Regions from separate parts of the Homo sapiens genome. Here region 2 is linked to region 1. Evidence: promoter capture Hi-C in human tissues and cell types (Jung and others, 2019). All regions are on one chromosome and are shown on one strand. The core of a region is centred on a gene start or on the middle of the fragment in contact, and the rest is flanking DNA. Distances in the headings are between cores, read along the strand shown. Region 1 holds the start of PPP3R2 (protein phosphatase 3 regulatory subunit B, beta). Region 2 has its middle 51 kb from the start of GRIN3A.

Region 1 (6,633 bases), core at 898-3,397:
TGGTTGTGTCCTCTGCAATGTGGAAGAATTGCTTTACCATAGGAGAGAGTGAAGGAAAGAGAAGCAGAGGTGAAAGGCACAGAGAGGTCAATGGGCCCAACTCCTTGCAGGGCCAGCTTCATGGGCATGTGGCCCACGCAGTCTCATAAGGTCCCGTACTTGGTTTAATGTTCTGCTGTGGCCATCTTGAAGCTCTCAATCATTTTCAAACAAAGGACACTGCAAATTACATAACTGGTCCTGAGGCGTTGGTTCCAATATTTCCTTAAACCCAGTGGGATCCTCACCCTTCCTAAGACTGAATCATTCAGCTCTTCTTTAGATTATGTGAGATTCTTCCAACAAATTATCTTTCATGTTAAGCTTCTTAGAGGTAGATTCTTTTACTTGCAGCCAAGAAACTGGACTACACTGTGGTCAAAGACACAAGATGAGAGAAATAACACAATTCTAGAGGCTCCCAGCCCCAGTGCATGCCCAAAAGATAGAGTTCTGTCCTTGCCCCTGAGGTTTCTGATTTTTTCAGAACTGCACCTGCAGGGCCTGGATATTTCCCCCAGAGAGTCCAGAAAGGTCTTTGTGCTTTAGAAAGAACACAGGCTATAGTGGTTGGTATCATTTAGAGACCAACACTGATTTTAGGCATCTTGTAATATAATTTAAGGTGGTATCCTTAATATTGCAAATTCAATAGGCTTATATGCAAACTGTACCATGCTCATTTCTCTGAATAACTGAAAAGCAAGCAAATAAATGAAACAAAAAAACATTCCAATATAACAGTCTAATTGGGAAAGGGGGTTTCATTTGTGTAATGCCCATAATCAGCTTTAAAACATATCCATGGATTATCATTTGTTTATAGAGGAAAGTAAAATGGCCAGACTTAATGATAAGGTGATCAGTGGCTTAGTTTTGCTAGTTCCAGCATGGTTATCTTTAGACTGATATTTTGGCTGAACTATAGAACACAGAACTTGCCAACATTTTTTAAAGCGAAGGAGTGTTTGCATCTTTCAGTTTGATGTAGTGGCCTGAGGTTCCCCCAAGTCCCTTTGAACTGTTTGCTCTTGAACCACATTTGTTTCTTATGCATTTGGAGTAATTGATGCGCTCCGAAAGGAAGAAGGAATAAGAGGGAGCATGTGAGATTAGTCTTCAACAGAAAGAACAAATCTAGTTGAAACAAAAGGAGAAAAGTGAGATCATCCAGAGGCGACTGTCACTCTCAACACACACAAAAGGCTTCTTTGGGCACATTGCAGACCTTCCCCCAAGGTATTCTGCAGAATAGCCGCCAGGCACCAACAACAAAGATGTGACTCGGGCATGAGATGATGGATAAGAGGGAACAGAGTAACAGAGGTTGTGTTCTTGAGACCTGTGTCATCTTGAAAAACGCCCTGAATTCAGCATTGTTTATATTCCTCGGGAATATGTTAGTGCCTGTAGGTGATCCATGTAAGAAATTCTGCGCGGTATCTGCCTGGTCTCTTACAAACACTCTGAATCCTACGTCCTGAAAAAGGTACAGAAGGATGTCAATCCCGGCTTCCCCTCCCAGGGAATCGTGGAAAACATACTATATCAATGCCTTGATGTGTCACCTTGTTTCATCCTTACACTAGGTCTGTAAAGCAAGTATACAGTGTCCTTGGTTGCAGTTCAGTCATTCGGCGTATATTTATTAAGCACATATTGCCTGTGAAGCACTGTGCTTCTGGGATACTGCAGCGAATAACACAGGTGCGATCCCTTCTCCTTTGGGGTTTACTTTCTCAGAGAAAAAAAAAAAAGAAATAAGTAGATAAAATAATTGCCAGGGAAATTGGGGTTATCATGGAAAGGTACAAGGAGTTTGAGAGAAGGAAAAAGAGAAGGGGCAGCCCAGCTTTCCACCTCTGCCTCTCCCGGGCACCCCCAGGCTCCATTCTCTCCTCCCTATACTCCTGCCCAGACAGCACCCACCTCCCCTTCCGCCCCCTTTTCCCTCCTTCTTTCCCTCCTCTCTCCGCTCCCTCTCTGACCTGCCGCCCCTCCCTCCGCTCCCCTGCCCTTTTGCTCGACCAGGGCCCCCGGGAGCCCTCTACCCCCACCCCATGGCCCAACCGTCCGGGCACGAGCCCCGCCCGAGCTCACCGCCCCTGCTCCCCTCTCCGACCCTTTGAGCCGTGGCCGTTGCCAGATGTCCACAATGGGAAACGAGGCCAGTTACCCGGCGGAGATGTGCTCCCACTTTGACAATGATGAAATTAAAAGGCTGGGCAGGAGGTTTAAGAAGTTGGACTTGGACAAATCAGGGTCTCTGAGCGTGGAGGAGTTCATGTCCCTGCCGGAGCTGCGCCACAACCCGTTGGTGCGGCGAGTGATCGACGTCTTCGACACCGACGGTGATGGAGAAGTGGACTTCAAGGAATTCATCCTGGGGACCTCCCAGTTCAGCGTCAAGGGCGACGAGGAGCAGAAGTTGAGGTTTGCGTTCAGCATTTACGACATGGATAAAGATGGCTACATTTCCAACGGGGAGCTCTTCCAGGTGCTGAAGATGATGGTGGGCAACAACCTGACGGACTGGCAGCTCCAGCAGCTGGTCGACAAAACCATCATCATCCTGGACAAGGATGGCGATGGGAAGATATCCTTTGAGGAATTCAGTGCTGTGGTCAGAGACCTGGAGATCCACAAGAAGCTGGTCCTCATCGTATGAGCCTTTTTCTTACAAGCACCACCCAACAACTTCTGCTTTCTTCCCTATCTCTTTCAAGATTTGCTCAAGACGTCCAACTGTCTCTCTGACTTATCTGGAAGTATTTCTTTTTGTGAAGCCATATGTCCTAACAGGAGCTTCATCACCAACTCAGTGCTATTAATTCTCCTTCTCTGAATGACTCAGGGTACCCTATAGGGGGAAGAGCAAGTCAAATGAGCATAGTGGGGAAAGAAAAGGAAATGGCTTTTATAAACATCTTTTACTTTGTTTTGATTCAAAGACCAAACTAGAACTTTAAAAGTTCAAAAATAAGAAAGTATACATTTTTGCTGTTATTTCTCATCATTTTGTATATGGGAGGAAATTTATAATTTGCATGGGTGTTAGGTGAACTGTTTTCATTTGCTTGTGTTCAGATATCTTGCCAGATTGTTAACTTCCTATTGTAGCAACAGGGACAAATATATTTGTCTTTGCTGGGCATCTCGTAATCACTTTTCTTAGGGGACAGAATCCCATCTTTTCCTTCGGCAGATTGCAGCCCCATTCCCCACAATGCATCCAGAAATCGCTGTGCATGTTTGAGGGGTAGGAGTTCATTTGGCCTCCTCCTGACTTGTTGCTCCAGCTCCTGAACAGAAACTAGCTTCAGGGCTCTTATAGGAAATGCTAAGCCTGGACTAAGTGCCCAGCTCAGCCATCATCCTCATTAGCAGTGGGTTTCCAGGGTTGGCAGCCCACACCAGCATTAATTTCAATGAAGGGGACCTCCAGCTAAATAGGGCAAGCAAAGTGTTCTCCCAGAAAGTGCTCTCACCTCCGACACTGGTCCCTACCCCCAGGTGGAGACAATGAGACATTTAGTTAGTTGTCCTACGGAGGAGAGGCAGTAGAGTCAGGCTGCAGTGGAATCTCCCTAGGATGCCAAAGTGGCATTATGTCTGTTGCTCACAGATGCAGAGACTGACAATTGTGTCTCCACAGCAGAGGTGGATGCTAGCTACACCAGCTATGCTGATTTTGAAAATCAGATCTGAGGCCTAGAAGAGAAACTGAGAGCTCTCTCATTCCAGGAAGCCTTTTCCCTAGTGGAACATTCAGTGCAGAAGTCCTCACACACTAACAGATCTCCACCATTGGGTGAGCCGGAGCCTGTGGTTCCAGGGGAGATCCAGAATGCATGTGTCTCTTCCCACGCATTTATGTCATGTTGGTAGCTTTAGATCAGCCATGGTGAGAAAAGAACAAAAGCTTTTAGTTGTTTTTGTTTTGTTTTGGAGAATTTGTTTACCAGTAAATACATCACTGCCTGTACCCCAAATGTTACCAGCTCCCTGAGGTGTCCCACATACTATTGTGAGTTCTCAGAGCATGAACTGTCCTCAGAAGAGCAGGGCTAGGACTTGTCCCAGCATCTGTGCCTCCATACCAATCCTCTTTCTCACAGAGAACCACTTCCCATATAAGATGCTTAAGGCTCTCAAAACAGCAGAACAATGAAACATACTCTCCCTACACTTGCTTAGCCAAGAGATACCACTCAGGTAACTTTTTTCAGGACATGGAAGATCTGTTTCAAGGAGATTTACTGCTATTTTATTTGGAAGAAGCTGGCAACTGGTCTTGACCAAAATAGAAAAAAAAAAAAAAAGTCCACAAATTTAATCACTTGTAGGGAACCCATCTATCAAGGTACCCTACCATATACTTTTGTATTTAATAGATTACTTAGAAACCACAAAAATAGGAATCCTTACCCCTTCAATTCCTGTTCAACCCTAAAAACTGTGATAAACGCTCCCAACCCTGTGGTGATCAGGGTTATGTAATGTTCAAAGATTCAGACACACCTGGGTTTGGATTCAGTTGCAACTGGGTTGTTATCACACTCACTTCTTTTTAGCTGTGTGAGCATGAATAATTTACTTAGCCTCTCTGTGTCTTTCCACCTAATTAAAGAGGATCCACCCCAGGGTTATTTTGAGGATTCAAAAAGGCATGCAACACACCTGGAGCACAATTCCACTTTCATTCAACTAATTCCCTTCCCTTCCCCCTTCTTCCCCTTCTACAAGATCAATATGTAAAGGAGACATGAGGCTTACTGGTTGCTTTTGAACACTTACTTAGTTCTTAGCTACACCCACTCTAAAATTAACTGGACATTAGTGTACAGCCCATGTCCAAGCCCAGAGAGAAAACAATGGGAACAATTTCAAGGTCCTCACCACTCCTTCATTTGCAGAGGGGACAACAGACTTTCTGACCTGAGAACTGGAGAATTTTTAAAACAAAATCTCTCATTCCAGCCCAACCTATTTAACTTTTTGTGGAGGAATTTTACATGGAGGAAGTGAGCACATGTCATGCTAGCCAAGAGGACATTATTGTCATTAAAGAGAGGCATTATTTATACACCCTGCAATGTGCACATTAAAATATGGAAATTTTAAAATTATGACCAAGGGCTTGAAACATATTGGATTACATGCTCACATTTAACAAAGAGAGGAAATGTGTTTCAGTTTCTGGAGTGGCTGGAATTTACAAGCTAATTGTTCAATAAATCTACTCAAGATAGTTACCTAAGGCTTTGTGGCAATGACCTTGAACTGAGAGCCTGTATCTGGATTTAGCACTTGAAAGATCTAACTGGATATTTGGGTTAAAAGAATCACATTTATTCCCAAATCGGAATGCTTTGTTTTTCCTGTCAGTTAATTGCCAGTTGCCAACAAATCTAGTTCTATACAGTTTCTTGGGATGATGATAATAAACATTTATTGAGCAATTGTCCCATAACTTTTGATATAACCTTTGTTATACATATCATTTAATCATCATAACAACACTGTGAGTCTGGTGCCATTATTTCAGCATTACAGATGATGCCATGTAGAGATCTAGCATCTTCTCCAAAGTCGCCCAGCTGGTAAGTGGCAAAGCATGGATTTGAACCAGGCTTTCTGACCCCAAATCCTGAGCTTTATTTCTACCTCTCTGCATTTATCTTATTTTTATAGCTCCTATATCTACCTGTTACAAATTATTTATTATAGTCTTAACCATGTCATCAAATCAAGCCTCAGTTTTCATAAATGATGAAACTGAAGCCCAAAGAGGTAAATTGCTTGTCAAAGAACAAGCAGCCTCCACCTCTTTGGTTCTATGCATTGCAATGAAACAGATATGTTAGACGAGACAGTTTTAAGCCATGTTCCACCTTTGGCTCATCTTGAGAAACAGGTGACAATATTTAGATTAAACCGATAACGCAAACCAATATGCTCTGAGGCTATAGAGATCAGTCACAATATGTTGTTATGAATCCTATGTTAATTGGATTATGTCTGCTCTGTACCATATGTTGCAATCCCCAGACCACTAGACACTCTTTTTGAAACAGAGAAAAAAATATGGCCTCAGCAAATTCAATTTAGCTTTGGTGTATATTCTCTCATGCTTTAGAAACATTCTCAAGGAAAAAATATCTTCCAGACATTTTTGTTAATTACAAATTCCTAAGCCACTGTCTGAGGAACAGTATGAATTTTTTAAATGAAGACAATTTTTTATTTAAAAAAAGTATAAATTCCATTCTCTACTTATAGTACTGACTCTTTCTTTCTGTTAAGAGATAGAGTAGGTAGTTAGTCTGCTATGGTGTTATATCTATTTTGAATACTTTGAACAGGAGGAGGCTCGGATGTTTTTAAAAAGAGTGTTGGCCGGGCGCGGTGGCTCATGCCTGTAATCCCCGCACTTTGGGAGGCCGAGGCGGGCAGATCACGAGGTCAGGAGATCGAGACCATCCTGGCCAACATGGTGAAACCCCATCTCTACTAAAAATACAAAAATTAGCTGGGCGTGGTGGCACGTGCCTGTAATCCCAGCTACTCGGAAGGCTGAGGCAGGAGAATTGC
Region 2 (6,530 bases), core at 237-2,736, 200 kb before region 1:
TTCCGCATCTTTTATCCCTCCTTCCTATGAATGGCAGACCACACTTTCAAGGTCAAACTCTGATATCTGCTACATAACAAGCAGGACGGAGGGTTGCTTCATTCCTTGGTTTTAATATTCTAGTTTTCCTTTAAGCATCCTCTTTACACCTGGGGATTCCCCAGCTCTCTCCTTACTAAACCTCCCCCCAACAGGATTAGCTTCTATAAAGAGCACCACCCTTATCCCTGGCACCCAAAACTCTCACTCCTGATTTTGTATTCTCTTCCACCCACTCTTCTGCACCACTTAAAATCACCTCTCGTCTGTGACCCTCTGCTGCCCTCTTTTGACCATAATCCATGCGAGCTGCTGACAAGACCCGCAACCCCTCTGCTCCATGCATCTCCCTAGACCCTGAGCCAGGCAAACTTTCACCTTACTGTAAAACATGTCCCCTGAGCACAGTCACACAACAGTTCCTCAGATAGAAGGTGCATTCCCTGCAGGATATTCCAGCTCCACCCACATACTTCAAAAATATATATGTATATACGTGTGTGGGTATGTGTGTGTGTGGAAATATGTCAGTCACTGTGCTGGATTTTTGAAATATATCAGCGGATGAGAAAATTCATGTCCATTAAATAGTATGGCTTAGTGGAAGATATAGCTATATAAACTAGAAATAATATATCTTGACAAGTGCTGTGATGAGGAAATTTTATGATACTATAGAAGCACTTAAAAGGATTACGTAACTATGACTTAAGGGACAAGAAAAGCTTCAGACCTCAGATTGTGATCTGAAAATTGAGATGAAACGTGTTCCATGTAGTTCAAGGGTTGGCACATAGAACCCAACATTTATTTGCCACTCTGGAGAAAATTGCGTCCCTCATGTAGGTCACGCCCTCAAACCAGACCTTGGGCTGTTTATCTCACCTCTAGACCTACTCATCTATCAAAGACTAGGACTATTGGGCAAAGATAATGCCATAAGAAACACAAGAACTCTAGCCACATACAGGTTAGAGCCAAGACTGATTATCTAGCAACTTTACCAACAGATAAACCCACCTACTCCAAATCCCTGCTATCTTTAGACAGTACCCAAGGAAAACCTTCTGGTTTGCTATCATCTCCCATGTCAGCAACCACAATATTCTGTGCTGCTTTTGCTTAACACAGTCACCTATTGCTACCCTCTATCCCAAACTTTTCACTATGTCAAATCCTAAGTAAAAAAAATCCTCTGTATCCAGTCCTCTGTTTTCTTCACCCATTTCATGCCTTTAAGTTTGTTTCTCCTCTCAAAATACTGTTTTTTCTGCAGTCCTCTCAAAAAGTTTCTCATTTTCTCATGCTGCAAGCTCTTCATTATTACCACCGTGAAGAATGTGCCATCAAGTCATAGCACACTCTCTTCTCCTAGTCGCTATGAGTCAACATAATCTACTTCTCCTACTTCTTTAAAGACCTTGGCAATAACTATCCACCTCTCCACTCTGTTCTTGCCTGGGAAACTCAAGATCCATACAAATGATGGGAGCTCTAATGAGTTCATTGGTTATGAACATGAACTCTTCTGGTTTTCCTCCTACTCTCTGGCATCTCCATCTCAATCTCATTACAGGATTTTCTTCTCTATATGTCCCTGTATTAGCAAACCAAATGTTGACTTCTTTTCCTCTCACTCCACACCGTCTCCTTGGTAAATACTGTCTCAGTTAACTGTGGATTCAATTAACATCTATGTGCTAATAAATACCGAATCTTTATCTCATCCAAATATCTCTCATGGGCTCCAGAGATGAATACCTAACCGTCTAAATAGATACTTTTTGATGACTCACAGACATCTAAATTCAATGCGTCCACAGATGAATTCATCATCTTTTCCCCAAGTGAGTTATTTGCTTTGAGAGTGATACCTAAATGCTCAAGCCAGAAATACAGGTTTCTTCTCTTACTCCCTTCTCCAGTTTCTCCGCACACCCACCTCAAGGCAATTTCTATACTTCCTTCTCCATTTGCCCTTTTTCTAACTTGTCACCATTTTATTCCTCAAGTTCACTGTCCTGCACCTCCTCCTGCCACCCCTTCAATCCATTCTTCACACTGCATCCATCCTGACTGTCCAAATATGCATCTGCTTATATCATTACCCTGATTTTTAAAAACAATGAAATAAAATGCTTAGTGGAACCCTTCTACCCTCAGGATAAAGTTCACAGGCCCCAGCGTAGCATAACATACTCTTCTGATTTGGTTCCTCATTAACTCTCCAACCTCATCTCTCATCCTCTCAACACCAATATGCCCCATTCATGCCAAACCACTGTGTGACAGGATCCAATGACAACGACAAATTTCATGAAACACGTATAATTCTACTTGTATCTAAGGTTAAAGGACTTTCTTATTAAGTGTCTGGGGGTGAAGGATGGGGTTTTTAAGGAAACCTATGTCAATGAACCCCATTTGTGTGCATAAAGATAACCAGTTGCATGTAGGTTTGATTTCTGCAGAATATAGGTAATTCCCAAGGGGACCAGCAGAGAAGAAGGAAAAAAAATGTTAGCTTCACCAGGCTCCTTAAATTATGACAACACTTACACATGACTGGCCCAGAATTTAGGCTGCAGTGAAGCATTTCTAATGGCTCAATTCCAAGGCTAATAGAGCCAAGCAACTCTTTGAGGATCCTCTATGTCCTCTCATTTTTTAAAACCCCAGATGCTAGCATATAATCAATGCTTAACTCTATGTTGCAGATCCTTTGCAGGGATTGTGCTCATATAACCTACATTTTCCAGGACAATTGTGATTTCAAATATTCTCCTCTGTAAACCATGGAAATGTTTCATAAATTACAATTTTATGAAAATAATAATGGAGAAGATCAAGAAAGTTAAGTATTGTAGTAAAATTTTAGATGTGAAAAGATGAATAGCACAAAAGAACTGAGACATCAGAGGCCAAGGAAGCATTGTGATACATTGTGAAAACAAAGTATACTATCCCATGTCATATACATCTAGGTATGTAATGTTAAATGTGTGTAACATGTGGCACCCTCAGATAAAAATAAATCATGTTAAAGTGACATTCTGCAAGGAAGCCACTTTCCTGGTTGGCACAATGTGAGGATCAGAATTGAAATGAAGAGTCAGATAGGTATTGTCTTGTTTTATTGTTTGTTTGTTTGTTTGTTTGTTTTATGATTCTTGGAACTTCATGAAAAAATTAATGGAGAAAATTGAAAACCTCAGTGAATTACATGAAAAGAAAACAATATACATTTTACTGTGAAGTTATGTATAGTAATTTATTACAACTTTTACTATTTTGACCACTGCAAGATATTTTGATAGACTCTTGTGACCTCACTTGTTCACTCCTTTAATGAATATTGAGCATCTCCTGTGTGTTGGACACTGTCCTAGGTACTTGGAATGTGAACCTAATGAAACAACACAGGTCACTGTCTTCAAGAAGCTTATATTCTAGCAGTGGACAGATAATACCAATAGGTTTGTAAATTAGTAAATCACATCAGATGTTAAAAGATGATAAATTTTATGCAAAAAAAGTAGTGTAGGGCAGAGGAATTCAGAGTGCCATTAAGGGAAAAGTGTAAGGCTGTAGTATTAATAGAGTGATCAAGGTAAGCTTTATTTGGAAGATAAAATTTGAGCAATCACTTGAAAAAGGTGAAAGAATTAAACAGACAGCTGGGGAAGCATGTTCCAGGCAGAGGGGACAGCTGGAGCAAATGCTCTAGGATGAAAGGACTTTTCACAGTTGTGATTTCACATTTGTATTTTGATCATTGTATTAATCTGCCTCCTTCCTTAGACAGTATCTCCAAAAAAGGTAAGAACCATATCTGCTTTGTTCAATTTTCTCTTAGCATCTAGACCAAGAATGCTCAGAAAATATATATACTGAATGATTAAATAAATGAATATTAATTTGCACATTCATTTTTCTAATGAACTAGGAAAACTCTTCACCTGGTTTGACTAAGAGATTTTCTATTCTAGTCTATTCTAGATTTTGCTCATTCATTCACTTGTGGCTGATTCTAGTCTGTGTGTCCAGCTCCATTACTGACTCATACTAGCCTGTAATTGAATGATACTGCCTTCCATCAGCATACCTATTACTAATTGCAGAAAAACTATAGCTTCATTCTCTACCTGATAGAACTTCACCTTAAGTATGAGAGTGCTTATAAACCTTCCAATACCATCTAATAAATGTCTTCTACAGATTTTTTCCATGGGAGTTCATTTTGGTTCCTCCTAGCATGGCTGAGCAGATTCTGTTCTCTGTTTCTTTATTCTTTGGCTGACTGCCTATGTTCTGCAGAATCAGTATTCTGCTCTGCTGTGTGATGGACAGGGGGTTATCCCACTTCTTTTTGGCAGGAAGAGGGACTTCAAGTTTGGCTCTGAGCTGAAAATGAATAACACACTAGAAAAAATAAGGTCACCACTATTCCTCCTGTGTAACTCGCTATTAAATATTTTCTTTGCATGAATTAGCTCAGGAATTTTAGTATTTAACTATTTTGAGCCCAGTACCATAAAACATAAATGTACAATATGCCAGTTAAGCTCTGTGAATTCTACAGCACATAAAAAACTAAGCAACTGTCATTGGAAAAAAACACAAAATTACATTCCTGCAGTTCAAATTTTTATCAAGTATGTTTGAAAATATTTTATTATTGTATTGCAGAATACAAAAAGTAAGCAGAAATACGTAAGAGAAATCTTCTAATACAATATGTGAAAAGGTATACTTTTTCTAAATAATATGTCCATTTTTATCACATTTGACATAATACACAGAGTTATGATGGAAATAAAGTTTACAAAGCACCTACCATGTTCTAAGAATAAATAATATAATGCATGTAAAGTGTATCTGTTCATAATGAACCTATAATGTATATAAGGTATTATTATCACTGTGGATTCACCTTTACTCTGCATTCATCCATGGGCTAAGCGCAAAATAATACTGAAGTAAACTTTATACTTGAAGAATTTGATCTCACTTGACATATATAATCTAAGAAATACTAGTAAGCCCTGAAATTTGTAATATACAGAGGCTCAATGAGGGTTTGTATATACACACACTATCTAAAAGATGGTTTTGGTCTAATGGAGTTTATACCACAAAAAGAAATAATTCTGCATTGTAACATTTACATTTCTCAGCTTTGCATGTTGAGAAACAGCATATTTATCAGAGGTAGCCTCCTTGAGTTTGAATCTCATTTCTGCTACCTACTAGTCAAATGTCTATGAGAAAGTTATTTAATCTCTCTGAGCCTAAGTTTATTTCATCAGCTAAAAATATTGCCTACCTGTATTAGTCAATTTAATATATCAACTTGACTATGCTATGGTTCCCACTTGTTTGGTCAAACACCAGCCTAGATGCTTCTGTAAGGTAGTTTTAAGATGTGATTAGCATTTAAATCAGTAGACTTTGAATAAGGCAGCTTTTCATAATATAGGTGGGCCTCATCCAGTCAATTGAAAACCTTAAGAGAAAAGACAGATATCTCAAGGAAGGAATCTTCTGGCTTCTGACAGTCTTTAGACTCAGGACTGAAAATCAGATCTTCTCTGGTCTCCAGTTGCTGACCTGACCTGACCTGCAGATTTCAGAATTGCAAGCGTCCACAATCATGGGAACCAAGTCCTTAAATTTCTCTCTCTCTCTCTCTGTCCACACACACACACACACACACACACACACACACACACACACACACACTCTGTCTCATTCTGTTTCACTGGAGAACCTGGAGAACCCTACCTTCCTGCTTATTGGAGTGCTGTGAAAATCTGCTCTGAAATCTCAGCTTTCCTGTGATTATTGTTAGTCTATTTCTAATTTTCTATCCTTTTACTTTTATACTATTTCTGTCTTTATATTTAAAGTATGTTTTATTTTGGCAATATATTCTTAGGTCTTGCTTTTTCAAATCTAACAATTTCTGCTCTTAATTGGGGTGTTTAAAATATTATTTTGTCCAGCTCCATATTTCCATATGGTTCATTTTCCTTCTATTTGAAGAATTTTATTTCATATTCTTGGAACACAGTGGTCTTTATTTTTACCATTTTTTTATTTTAAGTTCCAGAGTACATGTGCAGGATGTGCAGGTTTGTTACATAGGTAAACATGTGCCATGGTGGTTTGCTGCACCTATCAACCCATCACCTAAATATTAAGCCCAGCATGCATTAGCTATTTTTCCTAATGCTCTCCCTCCTCCATCCCCCACCTTTATTTTTTAAAGATATTTCATTGAGTATAATTCTAGGTTGGCATATTGTTTCTTTCAAAACATTAAAGACGTTACACCACTATCTTCTCACATGTATTTGTTCCAATGAGAAATCTGCTGTTATTCTTATCCCTGTTCTTCTGTATATCATATAGCTTTTTGTCTGTCAGTTTTTGTTTTTATCTTTGGTTGTGATTATTTATTTATGATGTAATTTGGTATGATTTTCTTC

The links. The method cuts DNA at HindIII sites, captures the fragments that hold promoters and counts their contacts. A contact is called where the count stands out against the background at its distance.
Region 2: a fragment that was not itself captured here is called in contact with the fragment with the promoter of PPP3R2 in region 1 in 1 of the 25 tissues and cell types used here (thymus).

What each region holds. Positions count from the first base shown.
Region 1 is chr9:101,590,483-101,597,115 of GRCh38, reverse strand. PPP3R2 (protein phosphatase 3 regulatory subunit B, beta) reads left to right here and starts at 2,147. Exons shown (of 1, transcript NM_147180.4): 1 at 2,147-5,512. The coding sequence starts at 2,195. The coding sequence ends at 2,707. All of the region lies in intron 6 of GRIN3A (glutamate ionotropic receptor NMDA type subunit 3A), which reads left to right. LOC105376186 (a long non-coding RNA gene) reads right to left here and starts at 2,142. Exons shown (of 3, transcript XR_001746863.2): 1 at 2,028-2,142; 2 at 1,608-1,773; 3 at 1,301-1,519. The HindIII fragment of the contact is 7,456 bases long and covers 1-5,729 here.
Region 2 is chr9:101,785,931-101,792,460 of GRCh38, reverse strand. No RefSeq gene overlaps it. Among named protein-coding and RNA genes, the nearest start is that of GRIN3A, 51 kb to the right of the region's middle. The HindIII fragment of the contact is 4,162 bases long and covers 1-3,567 here.